Linked DNA regions of Homo sapiens: regions 1, 2, 4 and 5 are each linked to region 3. The links are contacts of gene promoters, found by promoter capture Hi-C in human tissues and cell types (Jung and others, 2019). All regions are on one chromosome and are shown on one strand. Each heading gives the region's core, a stretch centred on a gene start or on the middle of the fragment in contact. The rest is flanking DNA. Distances are from core to core; before and after follow the strand shown.

Region 1 (3,913 bases), core at 108-2,607, 620 kb after region 3:
TACCCCCCATTTCTGGGGCCTCATCACTGTGGAAGACGGGGATAGTAAGAGATAAGTGGGTGGGAGGCACGGGGAAGGTTTTGGAGTAGAACCAGGGGTGTGTATGAAGGGGGGTGACAAGGTCCCCCTGGGGAGGGGACCAACCTTGTCTGGTGGATGAGAAGGCGTATTTATTTTTCACTGTACAGTATTTAAAAAGAGAATAAAAAAATCCAAATGGCTGTCTGGCTCCTGTGCCTTCTTTGTCCCCAGTTTGGTCCATTTGTTTCTCTAGGACTGACCTGCCCTGGCCCCTGGCTCTTGTTTTCTGTTCCTCCACATCTGACTTCTCTTCATTGTCTCTTGTCCCAAAGATGGTCTTACTTCTGGGAATTCCTGACATTCCTAAACTCCCCAGGCCCAGGTTCTCCCTCCTGGTTCAGAGGAGGGGGGCTTGTGCCTTGTTGCTTCTCCCCTCCCCCAAGTTTGCTGGTAGAGGGAGTTGGGCCACTCCTATACCCTGAGTCACAGCACAGGCTAGGCAGGGCTGCTCAGAGCTGGAGCTGTTCCTGTAGAAGCTGAGAGCCAAGGCAGGCTGCTTAATCCGATTACCTGAGGCCTGGGGCTTGGGCTGGGCCGTTGGGCAGAGTGGGGAGCAGGGTTCCCTCACAGCAGCCTCTGGAGCCCGGGGTCCGGCCTTCTTGGTGGTGTTCTGTTCTGGCTCCAGGCTTTTTCTCCGGCATGCGCATCACAGACCTCTTAACTTGGGGAGTTGTCCTGGGTTTCCTGGCTCCCCCCTCATGACTTGGACGACTGAAGCTAAAACTTGCCATAATTCAATAGCAGTGGAGAAATATAGGTTTAGGGACTGGAGTTGGGAGGGCTTAAGTTTTCTCACTTGGGAAAGGGGTTGAATCACGGCCCAAGCACCTGCTGGAATGACTCAGGAAACAAAAATGGTCTCCCTCCTCGGCCTTTCTTGCCCCAGGGGCAGTTCTGGGATTTGAGGAGCAACAGGCACCAGGAAAGGGGTTGGGGTGGTGGTCCGGGATGCTCCCAAGCTCCTCTCAGCACAACTCGGGCCCTGAGGGCACTTCATCCCCCTGTGTTTGATCCCATTGTGGAAAGAATTGGCTTTAAATTGCCTGTGCTTCAGGGAGGGGAGGCAATCAGCAACGGGCTGGAAGGCCTGACATCAGGTCTTGGGTGGGGGGGGCGGGGGGCGTGGCACCCTGAGGGTGTTGGGGGCTGGGACAAACAGGACACCTGGGTTTACCTACGGGCTGAGGATGTTGGCGCCCTTAAGGAGGTGCAGTCTTATGGGAGGGACAGGGGCGGAGTCAGTCTTTAAAAGCTGTTCCCAGGTCTGGCCCGCCTGCCACAAACGCTGAGCCCAGGTGGGAGAGGTCTGGCCTATCCGCGCCTGGCAGCTGTCGGAACTCCGGAGACCACAAAGGGGTTTATGGTTTACCCCCTCCACGGAAGGTCGGTCTGATCGCAGCTGCGGGTCGGGGAGAGGGACCGGGGGTCCCCCAGTCAGTAGGCCTCAGAACACCTCTTCAGTGCCGGGGCACCAGACAGCGGATTTTGCATTCGACTCTCCCCAAAGTGTGCCGAACAGGTTGGAAGCAAAGGCTCCGGTTTAAGCTCTGGGCTTGGGGATAAAATACACTTTTTAAGGACCCAAGTTCCTCGGCAACGACTCCAGACTGGGAAGACCTTTCCATTTTCAGGATCGACGCTTCACGTTGAGGGGAGGGCATTCAGGACGCCCTCTTAAGGCTTCTCCCAACCCATGGCGCTACCAGGCTCCTCACAGGACCAGGCCTGGAGCCTGGAGCCTCCGGCTGCCACGGCTGCTGCCTCCTCATCTTCGGGACCCCAGGAGCGGGAGGGCGCTGGGAGCCCCGCGGCCCCCGGGACGCTGCCCCTGGAGAAGGTGAAGCGGCCGATGAACGCGTTCATGGTGTGGAGCTCCGCTCAGCGCCGCCAGATGGCGCAGCAGAACCCCAAGATGCACAACTCCGAGATCTCCAAGCGCCTGGGCGCGCAGTGGAAGCTGCTGGACGAGGACGAGAAGCGGCCCTTCGTGGAGGAGGCCAAGCGGCTCCGCGCCCGACACCTGCGCGACTACCCCGACTACAAGTACCGGCCTCGGCGCAAGGCCAAGAGCTCGGGCGCCGGACCTTCCCGCTGCGGACAGGGAAGAGGCAACCTGGCCAGCGGCGGCCCGCTCTGGGGGCCGGGGTACGCGACCACCCAACCGAGCAGAGGCTTTGGGTACAGACCCCCCAGCTACTCGACAGCCTACCTGCCTGGCAGCTATGGGTGAGTGCCTGGGAAGCGGGCCGAAGACGGAGGCCCATGCGCCCCTCTTCTGGAGCCTTGGTGGGGGCGGATGCCGGAGGACGGGAGCCCACCCAAGCAGAGGCCACTCGCGGCCAAGGTGTGGCGGGCGCAGGCCCAGTACCTCCGGGGCCTGTGTAGGGTGGGGCGGATCAGGGTTCTCCCAGAGGGCGTTTCCATCTCAGTCTGAAGGTGGTGGGCCCTGTAGGGTCAGGTGACTGACCCCTGGATGCGACTGTGTCCTAGTTAGATGCCCCGTTTCCCCCCTGCTTCTGGCCTGTGTGTGACCCAGCTTCCTCTCCCAGCCCCCAGGGCAAGGAGAGGCCGAGCTCATTCTGCCCTTTCCTGGCCTGACTCCCCAAGAGGAAAACAGCCGTGCAGCACGCAAGCCCGCTCCCGAGCGTGCCCCAACAGGGCCGCGGGCTCTCCATCCCGGGGTCGGCTTCCATGCCTGCTGCGCCCAGCGGGCTGGGTAGCCAGGGCTGGGTGGGTGGCACGCTCTACCCTGTCTGCCCAGAACTGGCCAGACTCACCTCCAACCCAGGGAAGTGCCCTCTAACCTCTTGTTTCTCTCTGCAGCTCTTCCCACTGCAAACTGGAAGCCCCCTCACCGTGCTCCCTCCCTCAGAGTGACCCTAGGCTCCAGGGGGAACTGCTGCCCACCTATACCCACTACCTGCCCCCTGGCTCTCCCACTCCATACAACCCTCCCCTTGCTGGTGCCCCCATGCCCCTAACCCACCTCTAACCCTCATGGACGCAGACCTCACGGGACGGGCCTCATCCTCCTTTTTTAATCCAGCAGCATCCCCTACCCCAGGCTGTCAACCCTTTCTCCTGTTGGACTACAGTTCAGAGGCAGCCTGCAGTCCTCCCATGATAGCCAGGGAGAGCCGCACAACATACAATTATATTTTTGGTAGTATTAAACAGTTTTGTATTATTCAACTGAGTCTCCAGTCTTTATTGTCCCATCTGTTCCCCTCACTGCAGCAGGAACCAGCCCCATCTCCACTCCCTTCCGCCTAGACCTGCCAGAGCAGGAACCTCCTCACCCCACCCTGGGGCCCTGCCTGAGTCATTCTCCGTCCCCCTTCCCCCACCCCAGCACTGGGGTCCGGGAGACAGTCCCAGCCGGGCTGAGGGAGGGAGGCAGCCACAGCCTCCCAGTCCCTCCACTCTGCCGTCCAGACTCAGTCTTCCAGGGCCAGAAGGGAAGCAGGGAGGCTGGAGGACAGGGTAAAACATTTGCCCAGGATAGTGTTACACAGCTGGAAATTGCTGCTAGAGGAGGAGGCTTGGCTGAATGACTGAATTAATAGTACATGTACAGGGCTTACGAAAGCACTCAAATGTCAAAATTTTGGCTTGGGAGACTCTACCCCCATCCTCTCCTTTTCTAAGGATCTGGATCCATCAACCATTTGTTTCCACTAAAAGAAAACCCTGGCTCAGAAAGTCTGCAAGTGCAGAGGAATGGAGGATGAGTAAGTCACACCAGCAGGCTGGCTCAGATGGGGAGAACCCTGAGGTTGGGTGAATGAGTGGAAACGGAATGACTCCAGTAGCTGGCTCTACTGCGCCTTTT
Region 2 (4,256 bases), core at 1,037-3,536, 740 kb after region 3:
CACTAAAATGGAAAAAAGAAACGTGAAGTTTTCAGCCTCCTCCTGCTTCACCCTCTCCCTCTCTCTGCCCCCCTTGTGGGTATCTCTGACGCACACTGGGCCCCACTCCTGCGACGGTGGAAGGGCCTCAGAACAGAATTCGCTCACTAGGCAGATTCCTCAGAACAGGTTTTCCTCACCTTTGGGGACTGGGCCCTTCTAGGGGTGTGTGTGCAAGTGCATTCCAAGCCTGCACACCACTGTCTACTGTGCCCGGCCCCACTGGAAGGATGTGTGTACGTGGGGGAAGGGAGGGTGCTGCGGACAGGCCCTCCGGCATGGGGGGCTGGGAAGGGGTGGCTGCCGTGGGAGCCTGCTCAACAGGTGCACAGTGACGGTCTGGTGAAGAGAAAGGAGCCATGGTCCAGGGCTGAGGAGCTCTGGCGTCTTTACCATTCCCTCACTGGCACTTGATCTGAAGGAAGCTCAGTTCCTCATCTGCAGAATGGGGCTGATTGTCTGCCCTGCGTATCTTCCAAAAGCACATGGGAAACGGACCCGGAAAGTGGCTATAGTCTGGGGGCTGTGCCTATGCCAGCCCCTGTCAGCCCTCCCCCAGGACTGGGAATTCCCTTCTTGGGGCTTCGCTGATAATAATGGCAGCACACACTTGCTTAGCACTGACCGTGCACCAGCCTGTCCTCAGGGCACTTATATGTGGCCACTCTGTCCTCAGAACAACACCCTGAAGTAGGCACTCTACCTCCCTTTTTCAAGTGAGGCAGCTGAGGTCCAGAGAAGTTAAGTAATCTGCCCCAAGTCACTTAGCTAGTAAGAGGTGAAGCTGTATTTGAACCCGGGCAATCAGGTTGAAGATCTTGTGCTCTTAACTACTGTACTCTGCTGCCTTCTGGAACATTCAGTGGATGGTCCTTTCTGTGCAACTCCCTCCAACACTCTTCTCCCCAGTTGCTGCAGAACTTAGCATTTGCAGCAGTCCATTTCAGAAGACCCGGATGCTCAGGGATCCCCAGCTGAGGGCATGAGAACCTGAGTCTCTGCTGCTGTGTAAGGTGGATGCTGGCCATAGGAGCACAAAAGGTTGATGAGTCAGAGGAAGGAATGATCGTTCTCATCCTGTGGATCAGGGAGGGCCAAGAAGGAGGTGGCCTTGGAGTCAGATCTTAACGTTTTGGAGGGATTTTGACAAGCTTGGGGAAAGAGCATTTCTGGCAGAACAAGCCAGCACAGGCAAAGGCATGAAGGTGTGGGTCATGTAGAAGCTGGAGAGCACACTGGGTGTCTGGGGTTTTGTTCATTTGTTTAGAAACTGGGTCTCAATATATTGCCCAGGCTGGACTCAAACTCCTGGGCTCAAGCAATCCTCTAGCTGCAGCCTCCTGAGTAGCTGGGACTATGGGTATCTGCCATCACGCCTGGCTCACGCTGAGTACTGTGTGTTTGAAGAGGATAACACAAGGCAAGATTAAAAAGGAAGATTGGAGCTAGACCAGAGCCCTTGACTGCCTGGTAGAAGAATTTGAACTTTCTTCTAGAGTCAGTGGGGACCAGTGGAGGTTTTGAGCCCAGGAGTGATAGTCCTGAACTGTGGTTAGGGACGTTGACCCTCAGGGGGAGGAGGGCTGGATGGAGGAAGGTAAGCCTGGAGGCCAGGGGATAGCTGGGAGGCCATAACCTTGGACCACGTGAGTGTTAACAAGGACCTGAGCTATCGAAGGGAAGATTTCCAGAGCCATTCCCAAGCTCGGCGGCGATTTCAGCCACACTTGATGACTGCTGGATGTGGAAGTGAGGGAAAGGGTGGAGTCAGACATGACACATTTAGCACTTAGCACGTGAGACCTTGTGCGGTGGTTTATGTAACCAGCTGGCGGGCCATAGGCCTCTTCAGGGCCAGGTCTAGCAGTATGGCAGAGGGAAAGATTGAGCATCTGGGGTCAGCTGGGCCTGGATTCGAATCTTGACTGCTGCTTACAAGCTGTGCGACCTCGAGTAAGGTATATCCCTCTCTGAGCCTCGGTTTCCTCTTCTGTAAAATTAGAATAATATGGCCGGGCGCAGTGGCCCATGCCTGTAATCCCAGAACTTTGGGAAGCCAAGGCAGGTGGATCACCTGAGGTCAGGAGTTCAAGACCAGCCTGGCCAACATGGAGAAACCCTGTCTCTACTAAAAATAAAAAAACTAGCTGGGCGTGGAATCCCAGCTACTCTGGAGGCTGAGGCAGGAGAATTGCTTGAACCCAGGAGACGGAGGTTGCAGTGAGCCGAGATCACGCCACTGCGCTCCAGCCTGGGCAACAGGATAATATAAAACCTATTGTGGGTGGCTGTACTGAGAATATCATTAAATGAGGTAATGTGTGTGAGGCCCCAAGAAGAGTATGAGGCAAATTGTGAGGACTCCAGAGTGGTCAACTTATTTATGGTTTCTTTTAATTTTTTTTTGAGACGGAATTTCTCTCTTGTTACCCAGGCTGGAATGCAATGGCATGATCTTGGCTCACTGCAACCTCCGCCTTCCGGGTTCAGGTGATTCTCCTGCCTCAGCCTCCCGGGTAGCTGGGGTTACAGGCGCCCGCCACTACGCCCAGCTAATTTTTTATTTTCAGTAGAGACCAAGTTTCACCATGTTGGCCAGGCTGGTCTCACCATGTTGGCTAGGCAGGTGGTCAATCCCTGACCTCAGGTGATCCACCTGCCTTGGCCTCCCAAAGTGCTGGGATTACAGGCGTGAGTTGGCCATACCTGGCCTTTTTTTTTTTTTTTTTTTTTTTTGAGGCAGAGTCTCACTCTGTCGCCCAGGCTGGAATGCAGTGGCGCAATCTCTGCTCGCTGCAACCGCCACCTCCCCGGTTCAAGCAATTCTCCTGCCTCAGCCACCTGAGTAGCTGGGGTTACAAGCGTGCACCACCACACCCAGCTAATTTTTGTATTTTTAGTACAGATGGGGTTTCATCATGTTGGCCAGGCTGGTCTGGAACTCCTGACCTCAAGTGATCTGCCCGCCTCAGCCTCCCAAAGTGCTGGGATTACAGGTGTGCGCCACTGTGCCTGGCCCAGAAGTGGTCAAGTTATAATTGTCATCCCTATCTCCAGGCCAACTCAGTCCAGCGTGGACGATGGCTTCCATCCTGGAGGATGGACTTTGAGGACAGGTTCATTCATTTACCAGTTTTTTTGTTTTGTTTTTACCACCTATTACGTGCTAGGCCCTATTCTAACGACTTCAGATACGGCAATGAACAAAGCAGACAAAATTCCCTACCCTTGGCCGGGCGCTGTGGCTCACACCTGTAATTCCAACACTTTGGGTGTCCAAGGCGGTGAATTGCTTGATCCCAGGAGTTCGAGACCAACCTGGGCAACATGGTGAAGCCCTATCTCTACTAAAAATACAAAAAATTCGCTGGGCGTGGTGGCATATGCCCGTAGTCCCAGCTACTTGGGAGGCTGTAATGAGAGAATCACCTGAGCCTAGGGGAGGTCAAGGCTGCAGGGAGCTGTGGTAACACCACTGCACTACAGCCTGGGTGACAAAGCAAGACCTCATGTCAAAAAAAAAAAAAGTCTGGCCATGGTGGCTCATGCCTGTAATTCCAGCGCTTTGGGAGGGAGGCCAAGGCGGGTGGATCACCTGAGGTCAGGAGTTCGAGACCAGCCTGGTCAACATGGTGAAACCCTGTCTCTACTAAAAATATAAAAATTAGCCGGGTGTGGTGGCATATGCCTGTAGTTCCAGGTTTTTGGGAGGCTGAGGCAGGAAAATTGCTTGAACCCAGGAGGCAGAGGTTGCAGTGAGCCGAGAGAGATCATGCCACTGCACTCCAGCCTGGGCAACAGAGCAAGATGCCATCCATCTCAAAAACAAAACAAAACCAAAAACATTCCTACCTTTTACCCCTTGGAGCTTACATTCCAGAGATAAATAAGAAATAGGAGCTGGGCGCAGTGGCTTTCCACTATGATCCCAGCACTTTGGGATGCTGAGCTGGGCGGATTGCTTGAGACCAGGATTTCAATACCAGCCCTGGGGAACATGGTGAAACCTCATCTCTACAAAAAATACAAAAATTATCTGGGCATGGTGGCAGGTACCTGTAGTCCCAGCTACTCAGAAGGCTGACAGGTGAGAGGATCATTTGAGCCCAGGAGGTTAAGGCTGCAGTGAGCCTCAATCTCACCATTGTACTGCAGCCTGGGCAACAGAGCAAGATCCTGTCTCAAAAAAAGATAAATAATTGACCAGGCTCTGTAAT
Region 3 (4,113 bases), core at 1,490-3,989:
ACGGAGTCTAGCTCTGTCACCCAGGCTAGAGTGCAGTGATGCGATCTCAGCTCCCTGCAACCTCCGCCTCCCAGGTTCAAGCGATTCTCTTTCCTCAGCCTCCCAAGTAGTTGGGATTACAGGCGCCTGCCACCACATCCAGCTAATTTTTGTATTTTTAGTAGAGACGGGTTTCACTGTGTTGGCCAGGCTGGTCTCGAACTCCTGACCTCGTGATCCACCCACTTCAGCCTGCCAAAGTGCTGGGATTACAAGCATGAGCCACCGCGCCTGGCCAGAACTGGCTAATTTTTTGTATTTTAGTAGTAACGGGGTTTCACCATGTTGCCCAGGGTGGTCTTGAACTCCTGAGCTCAGGCAATCCACCCTCCTTGGGCTCCTGAAGTGCTAGGATTACAGACATGAGCCACTGCGCCCTGCCCATTTTTTGTTTTTATTGAGACAGGGTGTCACTCTAATGTCGGGGCTGGAGTGCAGTGGTGCAATCATGGCTCACCACAGCCTTGACCTCCGGCCTCTGCTGATCCTCCTGCCTCAGCCTATCAAGTAGCTTGGACTAGAGGCACACACTACCATACTGGCTAATTTTTTTTTTTTTTATTTGTAGAGACGGGGTTTCACAGGTTGCCCAGGCTGATCTTAAACTCCTGGGCTCAAGTGATACAGCCGCCTTAGCCTCCCAAAGTGCTGGGATTACAGGCGTGAGCCGCCAAGCCTAGCCATGGTTTGTTTTTTCTACACAATATGCTTAAACAGCAAATAGCATTTAGAATGCATTCAGAAAGGATATTAGCTGAATAATAATCTTCTCTATTGTTCATGTAAGAAAAGTGCTAACGTAGGCATGTAGAGGCTCAACAATGTCATCAAGTCCTGAAGTTCTTTCCAGGCCTCTCTTCTGCCTTCTGCAATGTTAGGCTTCAATGTCAAGCTGCTTCCTTCAGTAGCACTAGAAGCAGCAATGAGGGCTGCATGCTTCCCTGCTCACTTCCAGAAATCTCTTCCTCCATACCTTGCCCTATACATCTTTTCATCTATATCATTTGTAATACACTTTATGATAAACCAGTAAACGTTAAGTGTTTCCTTGAGCTGCCCAGCATTCTGAGCAAGAAACTGATTCCCACTAGCTGGCCCACTTAAATCACAGGCTTATGCCTGATCCAATAACCATAATCTGGAATAAAAGGTATTGATTAGTATAAGTTAATTGGGGCTCATTTCTGGACCTGCAATGAAGTCAGTTTCCTTCTCAAATCCTCAAAACTCTAAGTGCTTTCAGAAGTGGGAATAAAGCTGGGCGCAGTGGCTCACGCCTGTAATCCAAGCACTTTGGGAGACCAAGGCGGGCGGATCACCTGAGGCCAGCCTGAGCAATGTGATGAAACCCCGTCTCTACTAAAAATACAAAAATTAGCCGGGCGTGGTCACATGCACCTATAATCCTAGGTACTCGGGAGGCTGAGACAGGAGAATCAGTTGCACCCTGGAGGAGGAGGTTGTGGTGAGCTGAGATTGTGCCATTGCACTCCAGCCTGGGCAACACAGCGAATCTTCATCTCAAAAAAAAAAAAAAAAGTGAGATTTAAATAGGTCTTCATCAACCTAGGGATTTGGGGTTGTCAGCAACAGAAACTACTACAGAAACCGACTGCATAGACTGGAGAGACAGGTGGTCCCCTAAAGGAAAAATAGAGTGTTAGAAGAAAGGAGAAGAGTGCTGGACAGTACATACTTAATAAATATCCACTGGTTATTTCATAGAAGGCCCAAAAATGTATTTATTTAACCCAGTAATGAAATCTGAGGGTTAGGAAGAGCAGAAAAGAAGGAAGTGTGGCAGGAAGGAGGAAAAATGAAAGTGGGCCCAAACAACACGGCAGCTAACAGAGATCTTGCAACGAAAGGTCTATTGGTGGAAAAACTCCTCCCAGGAATGTCAGAACTTTTAAGAACGACATAGTAATGACACAAGAATAAACACACAGGCAAATGAGCAAACAACGGAATACAAAGTCTAGAAATAGACACAAGTAAATATGCTAACATTATATATCAAGGGCAGCATTTAAATTCTGTTGGGGCAGTTTGTTTAACAAATGGTGTTGACATAACTGGCGCTCCATCGGGCAGAGAAGTTAGACCCCAGCTCATACATGCATAAGGATAAACTCCAGTTACATTAAAGATTTAATTTTTTTTATAAAAAGAAGAAGGCCGGGCACGGTGGCTCACGCCTGTAATCCCAGCATTTTGGGAAGCCGAGGCGGGTGGATCACCTGAGGACAGGAGTTCGAGACCAGATTGGCCAACACAGCGAAAACCCGTCTCTAATAAAAATACAAAAATTAGCCAGGCGTGGTGGCGGGCGCTTGTAATCCCAGCTACTCGGGTGGCTGAGGCACGAGAATCGCTTGAACCCGGGAGGCAGAGGTTGCAGCAAGCCCAGATAGCACCATTATACTCCAGCCTGAGCGACAGAGAGAGACCTGTCTCAAAAAAGGAAAAAAAAAAAGAAAAGAAAAAGCAAGATAATTCACTGGGGGAATTTGGGGAAACTTTCCTAAACTGGAAGCCAAGCGTGAGCCCTTCTCATTCCGCCTCTTCCATTGGGTTCCCATGACTTACGTCACAGGACATCGAGCCAATGGGAACTAGGCATGGGCGACGAGCTTGCCCAATGGGGCCGGGGCGGGAGATTTGAAAAGTCCTTGGCCAGGGCGCGGCGTGGCAGATTCAGTTGTTTGCGGGCGGCCGGGAGAGTAGCAGTGCCTTGGACCCCAGGTGAGCTGGCCTCCTGTCGCAGGCCTTGCGCCGGGAGTGGGCAGATGATCAGGTAGATCAGAGGGTCCGTTGGGCTGGCCTGCGCGCACGCCGCAGGGCTGGAAGGAGGTAGGGACGATAGCAGGGCGGGGGCGGTGAGACCAGCGCCCAGATTGGGGCTAGTGTGCTGACCTGCTCCCTTTTACCAGCTCGGGCTAGCGCTTCCGGCTCGATCGGTCCAACCCCTCCCTCTCTCTCTCTTTTTCTCTGCTTCTCACGGCTGTTTCCCTTCTCCGCCCAGCTCTCCTCCCCCTTTCTCTCTAAGGATGGCCCAGAAGGAGAACTCCTACCCCTGGCCCTACGGCCGACAGACGGTAAGGCCCTTCCCTCCGTCCCTGCGCCCCCATGACCCCGCATGGCGAGTTCCTGCTGGGAAACTTGAGATCCTGCAATGAGCAATCCTTTAAGCACTTTCTTCCCCGTTATGCTCCAAAGTACGGGTCCCAAGTTTGACGACAGAACCCGCTCTGGTCATTTGTAGCCACATCCTGTCAGGTGCTGCCAACGTGAATCTGACCAGCCAGTGACTCCCAGCTGGTGAGGACCTCTGCAGGGCTCGTCACATACAAATGATATCTGGGACTGAGCAGGCAGGGCCTGGCCTTCAGGCCATGATTCCCAATCCATATCCTGAAAAAAAAAAAACTAGACAGCAAATAGAAATAGACTCTAAAAGGATATAAAGTTACAGTTTAAAAGGCCCAGGGCAAGTCTAAATTACAATTTGGAATTAATGACTAAATTGAGGTAAGAATCTAAATGGATCTAAATTGACTTATTTCCCAATGGTCCAGACAGATTTCATTGAAGGGCCTCCTCTCTGATTTGAAATGCCACCTTTATTATATATATAAATTCCCACATATATGTGGGTCTATTTCTGGACTGTATTTTATTCAACTTGCTTATTTGTAGATTGGTACCAATATCACTATTTGGGGCCTAGGGGCTTTCTTCTCTTGGCTGCAGAAGAAGGAAGGGGCCCTGCACAGGCTTTGCTCCCTGTTTTTGGAGCTCTTGCTTCCTGGAGAGTCTGTCTGTTCCCTTGTACATCAGCTCCCTCCCTCATGGAGCACTGAGTGAGGCTGTCAGGAATGGAGTCTGAATGAGAAACCATTGTCACTTTTACCTTAGTCACTCCTAAAAGAAAATGTACCTATTATTTTGAGAGTTGAAAGTGAGGCCAGGTAGGTGGCTCACGCCTGTAATCCCAGCACTGGGAGGCTGAGGCAGGTGGATCACCTGAGGTCAGGAGTTCGAGACCAGCCTGGCCAACATGGTAAAACCCCG
Region 4 (4,208 bases), core at 1,709-4,208, 930 kb after region 3:
TACAGCATTGATGCCAGAGAGCTGCTGGCTCAGCTGCAGCACGACCGCAATGATCAGGGGCTGCCGGTGGGTACGGCTGCCCAGGAGCTGGAGCAGGGACAGTGGCCGCTCACGCTCCAGCTTCCGCTTCTCATCCTTCAGCTCAGCCAGCACTCCAGAAACATCGGCCCAGCCTGTCAGGCGCTTCAGACCTGGAGAAGGGAAGGTCAGGCCTGAGGGGACCTGAGAGGAAGCCAGGTGCTAGCAAGATGAGGCGGAGGCATGGGCCTGGGCCAGGCTGCAGCGGGAGAGCTTACTCTTTCTGGCAGGCCCCTCGAGATTCTGGATGATGTAGAGGTAGCGGGGGCTCTCGGGACAGAAGGGCAGCAGGACCAGCTGCAGGAGGGCAGGTAGCACTGTGAGGCCCAGGAGCAGTGGCCACAGGCTGGCAGTGCCCAGGAGGGACTCCAAGCCCAGCACCTGTGGGAGAAGGTTGGGAAAGAAGGCAGGTCACTCAGCCCTTCTGCCTTACCTTGGAAGCCCACCATATTCTCCAGAGCCCCACTCTAACCACTGCCCAGGCACCCATGAGGCTTGCTCCGGTCACCTGGGCGATCAGAATGCCGATAACAATGGCCAGTTGGTTGAGCGTCCCCAGGGCGCCCCGCAGGTGAGTGGGAGCAATCTCCCCCACGTACATGGGCACCAGCCCTGATGTCAGCCCTGGGCGAGGGAAGAAGAGAGGGCTGAGGGCAGGTGTCCATTCCCATCTGAAAGCCCAGGCATGGTGAAAGAGAACAGGGCGCTAGGCAGGGCTGTGGTGCCCGTGAGTACCTGAGTAGGCGCCAATGAGGAATCGTCCAAGGATGAGCATTTCATAGGAGGCAGCAGCATTGGCCAGGCCCATGAGGCTGCCCCCCAGCACCGCCAGGACATTGTTGACCAGCATGGCCCTTTTCCTGGCAGGCAGACAGAGTGAGGCTGTGAGGGTGAGGGCACCCAGCAGTGGCTCCCTTCCTGTTTCCCCCACCCCTGCCCTCCAGCTGCGAACCTTCCAAGCCACTGAGAGATGATACCAATGAGGAAGGAGGAAATCATGCCGCCCACGGAAAAGATGGCCACGGAGAGGGCCCAGAGGGTGGTGAGGGTGCCTGGAGGGATGGAGCTGGGTCCCTCAGGCCCCTGCCTCCCCAGCCACGTCTCATTGTAGCTCTGTTCAATCACCTGGGGGACAGCAGAGGACAGATTTCCTGCAGACCGTCCCCTTTCCACCACCCCCGAGACACCTGTCCTCCTCGTTTGGGTACCCCCACCCTGCCAGCTGCAGGCCCTCACCTTCTGAGGGGCATTGATGACCCCAATGTTGTACCCAAACTGCAGGGAGCCAAGCACCGCAGAGAACACAGCAAGGACCAGGGTCCCAGTCACTCGCTGCTGAGGGGGTTCCCCATCCTGAACAGGCAGACACAAAGACACAGCATGTCACATGGAACCATGATTTTTTTCCTTCCGCTAGGGGCCCGGGCCCAGCTGGAGCCTGAAGATACTGGGCTCCACCCAACATGTTGGGTGAGGGAAACTGGGCCATATTAGGAATTGCACAAAGATCTCAATGTAAACAGGAGCTGAACTGCAACCTGGGCATAAAGGAGAAACTGGATGTTTGGGTCCATAAGGCAGAGAAATGTTTGAGAACTTGTCTCAAAATTCTTCTGTGACCTTGAGACAGGCTTGGCCTTAAGAGCTCAGATTTGTGTGACCTTGGCCAAGTCACTTCCCTGCCCCGAACCTGAGTGTCCTCTGTGAGATGGGGGTGATGTTGCCTGCCTTGCCTACCTATCTGTGAGAGTGTTGTGAAAATCAACATCACATGTTAACAATATCCTTGACAGTGCTGGTTTCATAAATTAACACGTGCATTATTATCATCAGCCACTGTCCTCTTCCCTCCCCTCTGGGGGTTCTGTCAGCCAGCTCCAGGAGGCCCCCAACAGGACCAAGAAGTGCTGTTCCAGAAAGGACATCCCGGTCATCTAGGGGTGGCCTTCTCTATCTACGTCGTGGCCTGCCCTCCCCCTCTAACCTCCGTGCAGGGAGGGCCGTCCAGGGGTTCTGCCTGGGAGAGCCATGCCCAGGGGAGGAGGGCAGGAAGGTAGTGTGAGGGGCGGTGGCAGTGGTGGCCGCTCGCTGGCGGCACAGACTGTCTCCAAGCGGAAACCTGAGCTGGAGGAGGGGGGGCTGACAGTCCCCTCTGCCCCTCCACCAACCATGGGGCCAAGGGAAAGTTCAGCGTCCTGGAGGGCGGCCAGGAGTGGGGGTGGGGGCCCACGGAGAGCCTCCGGTCCTCGAAACACTGCCCGTGAGCGAAGACGGACGGACAGCTCCCGGAGGGCAAGACCCGCCTGGATCTGCTTTCCCGAGTCGGATCGAGGGCAGGGTGTCCCCGATTCCGGAGCGCCGCGCCGCCTACTAGGCAAGGGGGTGAACCCTGGCTCGCAGAATCCACTTGCTGCCTGTGCCCCGAAAGGCCCTCCAGACCCACTCTGCCTTTTGGTAGGATTGGAATCTCACAGTCACGGGTTGTCCAGGCCGGGTATAAATAGCCAGCCCCCTACCTTCACCCCCTGCGCCTGCGCAGGAACCACCCCCAGCTGACCCCAACCGCGACCCCAGCCCAAGAAAAGCGGGACCCGTGCCCCCCCGCCCCGCCCCCTCATGATGAATCCTACTTCGGAGCCTATCTGTTGGAAGCCCGACGGCATCTCGTCTTAGAAGAGCTGGACGCGCAGGGGCGGCGAAGATGAAAGAACCGATCCTGGAGTCTCTGACTCCGGCCTGGAGCGCAGAACCTGCGGAGGCCGCGGGGGTCCCGGAGTGACGTGCGAGGGCGGGCCCGATGGGACCCACAGCCACAAGCCAAGGACCCGGAGAGCAGTGGGGCTCCCGCGGATCTGGTGGAGCGGGGCTGGGGGAAAAGACGCGAGAAGCCCCCGCCACCTCGCTCCTGCCCCCGCGGGCCACGCCCTTCACAGCACCCATTGGCCAGGAGCCCGCACACCCCAGAAGGCCACGCCCCCTCCGCCTGGGGTTTAGAGTTTGGCTGGAGTTGGTGGGGCGGGCCAATGAGGCCACGCCCCTCCGCGTGGCTGGCGAGACACGCCTCTCGGGTTCCCGCCAGCCTCCGACTGGGAAGTTTTGAGAAAAGAGTCCCTGGAACAAAAGGCCCCGCCCACCCACGTGTTAGGACTCCGCCCACCAGCTAGGATCCCGGGCTGCAGAAGCATCTTAAACTCTGCGGGTCTGGACAGTGGGGTCTGAGAGGAGAGGACGGGCCAGGTGTACTTGCCCCGGGGAAACTCCAGCGGCCTGAGACGGCTCGCGAGCCGGCGCGCGGGTTGGGAGAGGAGCAATGCCCCAAAGTAACCCGGGGCTGCTATTTTTAGCTCCCACGTTGGGAGCCTCCAAATGTCAGGTCCCGGGCGTCCCGGCCTGTCCCAGGCGGGGGCGGAGAGACAGGGAGATGACGCCTTAAAGAGTCCGCGACATGCTTCCCACGCGAGTGTGGCCCTGGGGGCCAGGAAATTCCGTTCCCACAACGGGTCTGGTGGCCGGGCTGCTTGGTCCTGTCTTTCAGCGCCTCCCTGCTCCGGGCACTGTCTATCCCGCCCTTCCCCTACACACATTCCCCAGGTTGGTTCCTGGAGCCGGTCCGAGGGACAAGTGGTCACAACCGACCACACCACCAGCCCTGAGGTCTCTGAGCCTCTGAGGTCTCTGAGCATATGCTGGCCGCGTGAACGACACGCTCTCTGGAGGCTGCTCCGGGTTTGGATCCTCGGCCAAATTCTGCCAGGCAGAAAGTGCGCGACCTAGGGTCGGCGTGTGGGGAGAGAGAAGCCGAAATACCCAGAGCGTGGAGAGTGTCTGGCTCAGAAAACGGGCTTCGGAAGCGCAGGGTTGTGCTGCCACCTGGAGGGCGAGCGAGGAGCCGCAGTGGATTGCACTTGGAATCTCAACCCACTATTTCTCGCCTTTCCGCCACCATAGGGCTTCAGTGACATCTGACCCAGGCCCTTCTCTGGAGCTGCAGATCCAGGTGTTCGTTACCGCCCGGATGTGGCAGCTCTAGTGATCAGCATGTCCAAACCTGCTCCTCCTCCTAACTTCCTTATTTCAATGAATTACCCGCCCAGTCACCCCTATGGTAGAAGTCAGGCTCGATTCCTCCT
Region 5 (4,555 bases), core at 1,959-4,458, 580 kb after region 3:
GCGTCAGTGCCATTGCCTGGGCTCTGGGGGCAGCTGTGAGTCCAGATCTCATGGCTTCTGTTCAGGGCCTGGTCCACATCCAGCCTCTGACCTTGTGCCCAAAGGCCATTCAGGCAAAAAGAGGTGGAAGAGTCTTCTCCTAGAGGGAGGTAGTGCAAAGGTGGCATTAGAGCATTAAGGTGGCTCGGATCCAGAATCTTCTCCCCACTTTTCCACTCCTCCAACCTGAGTTTGCAAAAGCACTACCTTCCACTGCCCCCATATCTTCTTCTTGTGGCCTATTCTTCTTCCCTCCCAGAGGTTTCCTTCCCCTCAAAATGTGCCGCCTCCCTTGAGCTGTTTCCAATGTTGTGCTCATGAACTTGAACATCATTCTCTCTTACCTGGTAAAGCCCCCAGGAAGAGACGCCCTTGAGGCTTGGCCCAGAGGTTAAGGAGGGGAGCCAGGCCTAAGGGAGGCAGGGCAAGGGCCTTCATCTTCGACCCTTGGCTCAAGACCACCCTGGACATACTCAGCTTCAGCTGAAGAGGGAGTCCCAAGACCAGGGGCAGATCCAGCCCTGGCCCCGACCCAGAAGACAACACCACCTTCTGCAGAGTGTGTGGGAAAGGGACGGTAGAGAGAGAGGGAAGAATGAGCCGGGCCTACTGCCTGTGGCCTCACCCCTAGCTGCCTTAATTCTGCCTCTTCGCTATGCCTCCACCTACTGGCCATTCTCACCACTTAAATCCTGCCCCAATTTTTTTTGGCTTGACCCTTTTTGAAACCACACCTGCCCCAAGTAAATATGCAGTCTAAGTCAAAACTGTTTGCTTGCTGTGGGGAGCTTCAAGATATGTCCCTCGCCCCTACCACCCACCTGAGTGCCATCCATAAGCCTTATTTTTATTTTTATTTTTTTGAGACAGGGTCTCACTGTGGCCCAGGTCAGAGTGCAGTGGCACATCATAGCTCACTGCAGCTTCAAACTCCTGGGCTCAAGTGAACCTCCTGCCTCAGGCTCCTAAATAGCTAGGGCAGCAGACATGTGCTACCATGCCTGGCTAATTTTTTTTTTTTTTTAGACAGAGGTCTCTGCTATGTTGCCCAGGCTGGTGTCAAACTCCTGGCCTCAAGTGATCCTCTGGTCTTGGCCTCCAGCACCTGGGATTACAGGCAAGCACCACCATGCCTGGCTAATTATTAATGAAAAACAATTCTGTGGAGCCAGTCTTGTTATGTTCCCTGGGCTGGAAACCTTCCTAATATTGACATGTTGGACTCCCCTCTTCCCTCATTGCTCCAGGCTCCACTGAATACAGGCAATGCCCCACTGTCCCCCTTTACTTGATCTTGGAGGTGGAGACTGAGCCAAGATGGGTTCTCTGGTGTCCCAAGAGCAAGGAGGTGGCCTGAGCCTGCTGCCTGCTTGAGTCCCAGGTCCAAAGAGAAGGCCCAGGGCTCTGCATGAGGCTGGGGAATGTCTGTGGGGAGAAATGATTATCCTGAGGCCTCAAAGCTGGGGTCTCAAGGAGGAAAGGGGCCAGTGGTAGAGGGGGACAGAGGCAGGCTGAGCTGGCCAGGGTGGGAAAAATAGACTCCGAGGAAATCTACCTCGGAGATTGAATTCTGCCTGAGTCCCTGGAGGGAGAAATATCCCGGGATTTGATTCTACATCACAGCTTCTGAGGCTAGTGGGGGCAGATGCTGAGATCTCGGCCTGTTTGTCCAGCCAGGAATCCCGGCGCAGGCAGCCATCCAGGGCAGGAACCAGCTGGAGTGTGACAGAGATAAGATACGGGGATGTAGAAATCAGGGCATCGGAGCCGCAGTCCCGACCTCCCTGCCCTCAGTTGACTCCCCTCTGAGCATTTGGCCTCCCCCTTGCAGCTCTCAACCCTTCCCTTCTCCCTAAAAGTGTGGACTTAGATTCCCACGGCCAGCCACCCAGCAGTGCTTTACCAAGTCTTGGCTAGGGTTCCACCCCTGGGGTGTAGTTACCGGCAACCGAAGGTTGGAAGCGGGGAAGAGCAGCCCCCCAAGCGCAATCCTCATGATGGGATGGCGTTTGCTGGTCAGGGGCCCAGAGACCTGTCTCAGGCGCAGCACCTCCTCCCCATCCACCTCCAGCAGCACAGAGTCCCCCTCCATCTTGACTTCCACCTGCAGGAAGGTGGGAAGCAAAATCAGAGGCCCCTGGGATCTGTTTCTGCCACCTTCCTGTGAGGCAGCCTAGTACTATAGTGGAAAGAACATGCCTTAAAGAAGCAGCTAGCATCCTTGGCCTTGGGTCACTCAGCTCTTGTCACTTATATACTGACTGAGCCTTAGAATTCCCATCAGAAAAGATGGGGCCAAGAATAGCTACTTTGTGGGGGTTCGTGTGGATTAAACGAGATGACAGTGGTAGAGGGATGCCCAATAACTTGGTTTTGTTCCCTTTCCTCAGACCAGCTCCAGACATCCCTCCCCTGAGGACCAGAGCTAGCTTACCTGGTGCCATCTCCCATCATCCAGCCGTGGTCCAGCACCCACCGTAAGCTGGGCCCAGTGATTGTGCAGTTGGATCTCAGGCCTGCCGTCTCGAAGTCCCAGCATAAACCAGTCATCCTTAGGGTTGGTATCCCCATAAAAAATCACTCCCTCTGGGTCCCAGGTTCGAACCTCAAAGGAGGAGGAGGTTCTGGAAGGACACAGAAGGAAAGATTGTGTATGTCATGTGTCCTTTGAGAACCAGTGTGGGTTTGGGGGAGATGGTGTTCACAGATAAGGAAAGGAAGACAGGGAAAAGAGAAGAGCTGATGGAGAGAGGGCAGAACCAGGGGACTGGGTCAAGGGCTAGGCCAACCCCATACTTTGTGATCTTGGTGAGGTCAAAGGTCATGACAGCGATAGGCTCTTGTCCTGGGCCATTGCTGAGGTGGACAGCCGGAGGGTCGTGGGCACTCTATCAGAAAGAGAAAACAAACAAAGCTGAGTAGGGACATGTCAGAGACAGACAGAGGGAGAGGCCCTGCTACAGGGCCAGAGGAGAGAAGGGAAGACTGCATGAGCTGAGTGCCCTGTCCCGCTCCTGCACCTGGGTGGGGAGAACAGGTCTCAGGGCCCATCCCTGGCGGGTGTGACGCAGTAGTAGCAACAGCAGCAACAGCAGCAGGCGCGAGGTAGCCAGTGGGCCTCTGCTCTCCATAATCAGCCACTGTCCACTCGGCGGCTCAGACAACTCTTGGGAGAATGTGTAGAGGCAGGCAGCCTTGCGTGTGGGCGGTGGAGGGTTAAAGGTTGCCCGGGGAGGAGGGGGTAAAGGAAACAGGGGCACTGACCCTTGACCCCTGCCCAGGGGCCCAGTCACAAGACTCAGCTATCACCCCTCTGGGGATCAATGGGGTGAAGGACAGAGTCCCCTCCACTATCATCCTCCACTGCCGAGAAAGTTTCTGAACTGGGAGAGGATATTCCATCTCCCCTCTCCTCCTCTAGGGCCTGATCTAGGTCCTCCAAGATTTCTGTCCACTCGGGGAGCCTGCATTCACAGGCCTGAGGTCTAGAAACAGTCCTCCCCTGCGTCCCAAGTAGCATCCTGTATCAGGACTAGAAATGAGATAATGGAATCCTAAATTTCTAGCTGAGTGACCTTGGGCAAGTCACTTCACCTCTGTGCTTCAGTGTCCTTGTCTGTAAAATGAGGAAAATAATACTTTACGGGGTGACTGTGAAAGAGGGTTCATTGAGAAAATGCAGGCACAGTGCCTGGCATCTGGTCTGAACTCCTCCCCCAGTCTTTTCCCAGGCCTCTGAGGCCTGTCTCCCAAGAAGGTATTGTCTGTGTGTATGATTCAGTGAATATTAAGAAGGGACCTGCCCCCCGCCTCTCAGTTATCTTCCCTTATCCATTTATTACAGGGCCTAAACAGTCTAGCAGTAGAAATCACCCACTCCCTGACCCATTTTATTTTATTTTATTTTATTTTATTTTATTTTATTTTAGACAGAGTCTTGCTCTATCACCCAGGCTGGAGTGCAGTGGCGTGATCTCGGCTCACTGCTGCCTCTGCCTCTCGAGTTCAAGCGATCCTCCTGTCTCAGCCTCCTTAGTAGTTGGGACTACAGGTGCACGCACCACCACGCCCAGCAAATTTTTTTGTGTTTTTAGTAGAGACGGGGATTTCACCACGTTGCCCAGGCTGATCTCGAACCTCTGACCTGAAATGATCCGCCCACCTCAGCCTCCCAAAGTACCTGGATTACAGGCATTAGCCACAAGGCCCGACCCTCCCTGACGCATTTTATTTTATTTATTTATTTTGAGATGGAGTTTCGCTTTTGTTGCCCAGGCTGGAGTGCAATGGCACGATCTCGGCTCACTGTAACCTCCACCTCCCAGGTTCAAGCGATTCTCCTGTCTCAGCCTCCCGAGTAGCTGGGAGTAAAGGCATGCGCCACCACACCTGTCTAATTTTTGTATTTTTAGTAGAGACGGGGTTTCACCATGTTGGTCAGGCTGGTCTCAAATTCCTGATCTCAGGTGATCCGCCTGCCTCTGCCTCCCAAAATGCTGGGATTACAGGTGTGAGC

What was found. The method cuts DNA at HindIII sites, captures the fragments that hold promoters and counts their contacts. A contact is called where the count stands out against the background at its distance.
Region 1: a contact is called between the fragment with the promoter of SOX15 here and the fragment with the promoter of AURKB in region 3, in 1 of the 25 tissues and cell types used here (heart left ventricle).
Region 2: a fragment that was not itself captured here is called in contact with the fragment with the promoter of AURKB in region 3 in 1 of the 25 tissues and cell types used here (psoas muscle).
Region 4: a contact is called between the fragment with the promoter of SLC2A4 here and the fragment with the promoter of AURKB in region 3, in 1 of the 25 tissues and cell types used here (small bowel).
Region 5: the fragment with the promoter of SHBG here is called in contact with the fragment with the promoter of AURKB in region 3 in 1 of the 25 tissues and cell types used here (heart left ventricle).

The regions. Positions count from the first base shown.
Region 1 is chr17:7,587,538-7,591,450 of GRCh38, reverse strand. SOX15 (SRY-box transcription factor 15) reads left to right here and starts at 1,357. Exons shown (of 2, transcript NM_006942.2): 1 at 1,357-2,307; 2 at 2,905-3,273. The coding sequence starts at 1,775. The coding sequence ends at 3,073. FXR2 (FMR1 autosomal homolog 2) reads left to right here. Exons shown (of 17, transcript NM_004860.4): 17 at 1-221. It overlaps MPDU1 (mannose-P-dolichol utilization defect 1), which reads right to left. Exons shown (of 7, transcript NM_004870.4): 7 at 3,239-3,913. The coding sequence ends at 3,900. RefSeq lists an enhancer at 1,639-2,213. The HindIII fragment of the contact is 6,906 bases long and covers 1-3,672 here.
Region 2 is chr17:7,473,531-7,477,786 of GRCh38, reverse strand. All of the region lies in intron 1 of ZBTB4 (zinc finger and BTB domain containing 4), which reads left to right. Among named protein-coding and RNA genes, the nearest start is that of ZBTB4, 4.0 kb to the left of the region's middle. The HindIII fragment of the contact is 3,437 bases long and covers 568-4,004 here.
Region 3 is chr17:8,209,201-8,213,313 of GRCh38, reverse strand. It overlaps AURKB (aurora kinase B), which reads left to right and starts at 2,739. Exons shown (of 9, transcript NM_004217.4): 1 at 2,739-2,784; 2 at 3,065-3,137. The coding sequence starts at 3,090. RefSeq lists enhancers at 3,237-3,286, 2,848-3,507. The HindIII fragment of the contact is 18,109 bases long and covers 1-4,113 here.
Region 4 is chr17:7,280,468-7,284,675 of GRCh38, reverse strand. It overlaps SLC2A4 (solute carrier family 2 member 4), which reads right to left and starts at 2,958. Exons shown (of 11, transcript NM_001042.3): 1 at 2,709-2,958; 2 at 1,315-1,431; 3 at 1,031-1,203; 4 at 814-938; 5 at 587-702; 6 at 297-459; 7 at 4-191. The coding sequence starts at 2,741. RefSeq lists an enhancer at 1,725-2,712 and a silencer at 2,845-2,994. The HindIII fragment of the contact is 23,134 bases long and covers 1-4,208 here.
Region 5 is chr17:7,628,788-7,633,342 of GRCh38, reverse strand. It overlaps SHBG (sex hormone binding globulin), which reads right to left and starts at 3,208. Exons shown (of 8, transcript NM_001040.5): 1 at 3,060-3,208; 2 at 2,836-2,927; 3 at 2,474-2,663; 4 at 1,982-2,143; 5 at 1,595-1,754; 6 at 1,328-1,464; 7 at 384-591; 8 at 1-139. The coding sequence starts at 3,170. RefSeq lists an enhancer at 628-717. The HindIII fragment of the contact is 13,012 bases long and covers 1-4,555 here.